2 separate regions of the Homo sapiens genome follow, and region 1 is linked to region 2. The links are contacts of gene promoters, found by promoter capture Hi-C in human tissues and cell types (Jung and others, 2019). All regions are on one chromosome and are shown on one strand. Each heading gives the region's core, a stretch centred on a gene start or on the middle of the fragment in contact. The rest is flanking DNA. Distances are from core to core; before and after follow the strand shown.

Evidence for each region. The method cuts DNA at HindIII sites, captures the fragments that hold promoters and counts their contacts. A contact is called where the count stands out against the background at its distance.
Region 1: a contact is called between a fragment that was not itself captured here and the fragment with the promoter of ASL in region 2, in 2 of the 25 tissues and cell types used here (hippocampus and lymphoblastoid cells).

What each region holds. Positions count from the first base shown.
Region 1 is chr7:65,773,982-65,776,681 of GRCh38, reverse strand. It overlaps the pseudogene GTF2IP5. Among named protein-coding and RNA genes, the nearest start is that of LINC03006, 4.5 kb to the right of the region's middle. RefSeq lists enhancers at 291-790, 791-1,292. The HindIII fragment of the contact is 4,143 bases long and covers 1-2,700 here.
Region 2 is chr7:66,074,327-66,077,185 of GRCh38, reverse strand. ASL (argininosuccinate lyase) reads right to left here and starts at 1,367. Exons shown (of 17, transcript NM_000048.4): 1 at 1,330-1,367; 2 at 1,093-1,147. The coding sequence starts at 1,104. RefSeq lists an enhancer at 817-1,096 and a silencer at 1,197-1,726. The HindIII fragment of the contact is 4,995 bases long and covers 683-2,859 here.

The DNA of each region.
Region 1 (2,700 bases), core at 145-2,644, 300 kb after region 2:
TTGAGGCAGGAGAATCACTTGAACCCAGGAGGCGGACGTTGCAGTGAGCCGAGGCCATGCCACTGCCAGCCTGGGTGACAGAGCAAGACTCCGTCTCAAAAAAGAAAAAAAAAAAAGATTAAGTAAGAGGGACACCAGACCTTAAAAATACAAGTTTAAGAGGGACCCTGACTCAGCGTGGTGGCTCATGCCTGGGACTTTGGGAGGCCGAGGCGGGCGGGTCACGAAGTCAAGGGATCTAGACCATCCTGGCCAACATGGTGAAACCCTATCTCTACTAAAAATACAAAAAATTAGCTGAGAGTGGTAGGTGCGCATCTGTAGTCCCAGCTACTCAGGAGGCTGAGGCAGGAGAATTGCGTGAACCCAGCAGGCGGAGGTTGCAGTGAGCTGAGGTTGGGCCACTGCACTCCAGCCTGGGCAACAGAGCAAGACTCTATTGAGGCAAGGTTTCTCATTCTCAGGTCCGAGGGGTTCAATAACTGGGCCCTTAGGGAGGTGTGAGCCCCCTGAAACGATGCAAGGTTTTGTGTGGAGAGTGTGCACATGCGTTTCCGGGAAAACAGCCCACAGTTCTCATTCTCAGCAGGCTCCACACTCAAAAAAGGTTAGACTCTTGCTACAGAGCTGTGGGAGCAGCTAGGTGAGGGGCCTGCCAAGGGCACTCTGGGGACTACCTGGGCAGTCTTGAGCCCACCTGGGCAGTCCTGAGCCCACTGTCCCCTAGGCAGGCTGCGCTGCTTGGTATTTGCAGAGCTGAGGGGGTGGGGCATGCGGGACTGTGAAATCGCCCTGAGATGACCCACAGCACTCAGCTGGGAAGTGAGGGGTGTGTATCCTGCAGCATCCTCCATCCCTAGGGCCATGGGGCCAGGAGAACTGACCCTTGCAGCAAGTGAAAAGCCTATCATTGACTCCCTCCCTGGCCATGCAGACAATGAACCAAAGGCACTCAAATCAAGTAAATGCCTTGGTCTCTGTGACCGACGTGACCAGTAGGCATTCCCAGGTGCAGGGAAGGTCCTGACACCAAGATATGCACCTGGTTGCCTGAGGAAAGCGAAAGGACTATCCAAGGGGTTGGGGCTGAGCTGGGTGTGGAGTGGTCCTTGTGGGTCATGGTGAGTGGGAGGGGGAGCAGCATGAGCCAGGCCTCGGGGCAGGAGGACAACCAGGAGATGGCCTGGAAAAAGTGCTGGACCCACGAGGGTTCAAGGCTGGCCAGAGAGGGAGGTGGGATAGGCTGGGAAGTCCCGAGGTCTGAAGATTGGCCCTGGCAGGCAGAAACCAGGAAAGGTGGGCAGTTACCTGCACCCTGGGGGCCAGATGCATCCTTAGCCTAGAGCAGGTGCCAAGATTTCTGGCTCTGGGTGTGACCTAATTCTGGGGAAAAGCCCCAACCCCCACCAGGACCACCTGCCCCCCAAACTACTTCAGATGCTGAGCCCAAGCCAGGAGCAGGAAGCTGGACTGATGCCTAGGGTAATCCCGACAAAGTCCCTGACTCCCCCCAGCTATGGGGCTGAAGGGGAATTACAGCCCAAACCCCAGATGCTGGCTCTCAAACTAACCCTGAGCCCTCAGTGCCCAAAGGGAGACTCAATCAGCACACTTTCCAGATGGGGAAACGGGCTCAGAGAAGTGCAAGAGCCTTGCCCAGTGCCCCAGACCAGGACTCTAGGCCCAGAGTGTTCTTTTGTCACTGTGTCCAGAGGGTAGCAGCTGCTCTGATATAGCCACCTGAGCCTGGCAACTTTCTCCAACTTTGGAAGCCCAGGAGCATGACCTGTGCCCACAGATGCACCTGGCATGAGGTGCACCCAGAGGGACAGAGGCAGATGAGTTTTGCCTCCTCCACTGGATTGTGAAGGCCTCCAAGGAGACAAGGATCTGCTTGAGAAGGCAGCAGATAGTCAGCAACCTGGGGTGGTTTAACTCTGGATGGATCTGCAGTGCCTGGATGGGACCTGGCTCAGACAGAGCTCAGTTCTGCAGGTCACTGAGGCATGGAAAGGTCACAGCTACCAAGTGTAGGAGTCTGGATTCAAAGCCAACAGCGTGACTCCAAAGTCCCTGCCCTAGCCCCTGGACCACCCACCTCTCGGAGTCACCCTTGCAAGCTCATCAGATGTTCAGGCCAGCAGCACAACCAGCCAGGGCCAGGGAAACTTGGGGAGCCTCATTCCAACATAATCCTTGCACCCTTGCCCCTCACCATCTTTCTTCCTGCGTTAACCTCACCCCCTACACAGAGCCTGGGCCACTTAACTTGGCATCAAACAGATGCCTCAATAAATCAGAGTCTGATCTTCTCGGAAAAAAAAAAAAAAAGACTTAACAGATATACAGTTGCAAGTTAGAATGTTAAAGAACATAAGCATACAACAACTTAATGTACATATAAATTCAATATGTAGCCAATCATTGTGACTATGACACAACAGAATATTAACATACTATTTTCAAAATGTATACAAGCTTAATGATCTATTTATATTCAAAATATGAATCATCAACATAATTTGCCATTAATATCTCATTCAGTCCCTTCACAGGACACATGATCCACTGGGAGTTAACACAATAGCAGCTGGCAGGCAGTGACACACAGCAAAAACGAAAACCAACAGGTGAAATAGTTCTGAAATAAAGAAGGTTTTAAAGCTAAGAGAAACCATTGAATTCCTAAGTCATTAGGAC
Region 2 (2,859 bases), core at 118-2,617:
AAGTAGAAATATCAGTATTGTTGTGGTTAGCCACCATTTATTGAGCACCTACTGTTGCTCAGCCCTGTGCTAGGGATTTCACATATGTTATTACGGCCTTTTATGAGGTGGGCAATATTACCCCTATTTCACAAATGAGGAAAGAGGTTTAAAGGGCTCAAGTGACTGGTACAGAAACCAAGTCTGTTTGGCTCCAAAGTCCAGGCCCTACCCCCCTGCCATGACCCAGAAGCTTGCAGGGCACTGAGCTTGCAGGGCATTGAGAAAGAGGAAGTGAATTGCTAGCTAATGAAGGCCAAAAGGGCCTGGAACCCAGACCTCCTGCTTCCCGGAGTTCCCTTCATCAAGCATCAGGCGAACAGCCCCTCTCACCTGAAGGGTCCAAAGCAATGGCCTCATAATCTAGTGCCTTACAGAGTGAGGCCGACAGCTATTATTACCCCCATTGCCAGATAAATCAACTATGGCCCAAGGAAGGAAAACCTCTGCCTGGGAATCCAGCATCTCAGTGGTCAGGAGGAGAGGCCAGGAGCCACTGACCCTAAGAGGCAGGGTCCAGTGAGACAGGAAGGGACCAGGCACCAGGGTTGCTGGAGCCACGAGGCGACGTCCCCTTTTTCCTGGCTCTTTCCACATGCCACAGTCAAGGACAAGAACACTTAGGGGCTGAGCTTTATTCTATAAACAGGGACAATTGCTCTAGCAGGAGAAGGGATGTGGTGTGGGGTGGGACCTGACAGGAGGACACGTGGTAAGAAGGAAGGAAGAGTTGGAAGGCTGAAGGCTTGGGAGCCACTTTTCCTGGCCAGGCAGGCATCACTGTGAGGTGAGGGCAGAGCCACTCTACCCCTAGTAGTGTGGGTTGGTGGGTTTGCCACAAGGGCTGCCTGCGGATACTGGTGAGTCCTGGTAAAGGTGACTGCTGGGCTCCAGATGATGCGCCCGGGAGGGCTGGGGGTGCAGGCTTCCTAGGTAATTTTCAAAATTGCTTCCTGGAGGGCGATTCCCAGCAGGGTGGCCCGAGGCAGGTCTGGCGCCCCCACTCTCTCCTTTGGAGGCTAGGAGGACCGGAGTCCCCGAGGTCCCACTCACCTCCGAGGCCATGTTGGGCGGTTCCTCGTCGTCCGGAAGCTTCGGTCCTCCGGGTCTGGAAGACAAGACCGGACTGACGACCTCCTTGGCCAGCAGGGTCCCCCGGGCCGGGCTGGCTCCGAGTTCTGGGCACTGCGCTTGAGGGAGCGCAGCCCTTGGGGACGCGGACGTGAGCGCGCGCCACGGTGCTCGGCGTCCTCCACGCCCGTCCCGCCCATCCGGCCGCCGCGCACTCACCTCCGCCTGGCCGCACGGATAGTGTCGCGCCCGCCACTGGCCAGGGCTTTTCTGGCCGGGATGGCGTCAGCAGCCGCCGGTCCTGTCCCCACCCCTGGCGACGGCCGCGCCAATAGGAGGCCGCCCGGCGGGGTGGGCGTTGCCTCCATCCTCCAATCCTGGCCGTGGGCGGGGATACCTCCCGCTGAGCTGGAGGCTAAGCGGCCCCGGGGCGGGGAAGCGGGCGGGGAAAGGGTTGGGGGGACCCCGACGGGGAAGGGGCCTGGGCTGGGGTTGAGGAGGGTAGTGCGCTGGCGTTCGTGCTGTGGTCAGCAGACACGCAGGGGACTGGAGACTCGGGCCAGGGGTAGAGGCTATGACATCAGGCCCGGGCCTGGCAGGTTCACAAGATATATAAGGTGAAATGGCATGTTCGCTCATTCACTCATTCATTCATTCATTCAACAAACACGTACCAGGCACCTCTATGTGCCAGGTACAGAGAAAGGCATCAAGGAAAAAGGAAGGACCATCAGAAATGAAGCCTGTGCCAGGCGCGGTGGCTCACAGCTGTAATCCCAGCACTTTGGGAGGCCGAGGTGGGAGGATCGCTTGAGGCTACGAGTTGGAGACCAGCCTGGGCAATACAACAAGATCCCGTCTCTACAAAAAAATTAATAATAATAAAAAAAAAGCCGGGCGTGGTGGTGCACGCCTGCAGTCCTAGCTACTCAGGAGGCTGAGGCGGGAGGAGCACTTGAGCCCAGGAGTTCGAAGCTGCAGTGAGCTATTGTGCCACGGCACTCCAGCCTGACTCCTCTAAAAAAGAAAAGAAACGCGGCCGGAGGCCGGGCGCGGTGGCTCACGCCTGTAATCCCAGCACTTTGGAAGGCCGAGGCGGGTGGATCACGAGGTCAGGAGTTTGAGACCAGCCTGGCCAAGGTGGTGAAACCCCGTCTCTACTAAGAATACAAAAATTAGCCGGGCACGGTGGCGGGTGCCTGCAATCCCAGCGACTCCGGAGGCTGAGGCAGGAGAATCTCTTGAACCCGGGAGGCGGAGATTGCAGTGAGCTGAGATGGTGCCATTGCACTCCAGCCTGGGTGACAGAGCAAGATTCTGTCTCAAAAAAAAAAAAAAAAAAAAAAAGAAAGAAAGAAAGAAAGAAAGAAAAGAAAAGAAAAAAGAAACGCAGCCGGGCACAGTGGCTTACGCCTTTAATCCCAGCACTTTGAGAGGCTGAGGCGGGCGGATCACCTGAGGTCAGGAATTCGAGATGAGCCTGGCTGACATGGTGAAACCTTGTCTCTATTAGCCGGGTGTGGTGGTGGGTGCCTGTAGTCCCAGCTACTCCGACAGCTGAGGCAGGAGAATCACTTGAACCAGGGAGGTGGAGGCTGCAGTGAGCTGAGACGGCACCACTGCACTGCAGCCTGGGCGACAGTGAGACTCTTGTCTCGAAAAAAAAAAAAAAAAAAGAAAGAAAGAAAGAAAAAGAAAAAGAGAAGAGAAAACAAAGAAAGAAACGAAACAAAAGAAATGAAGCCTGAC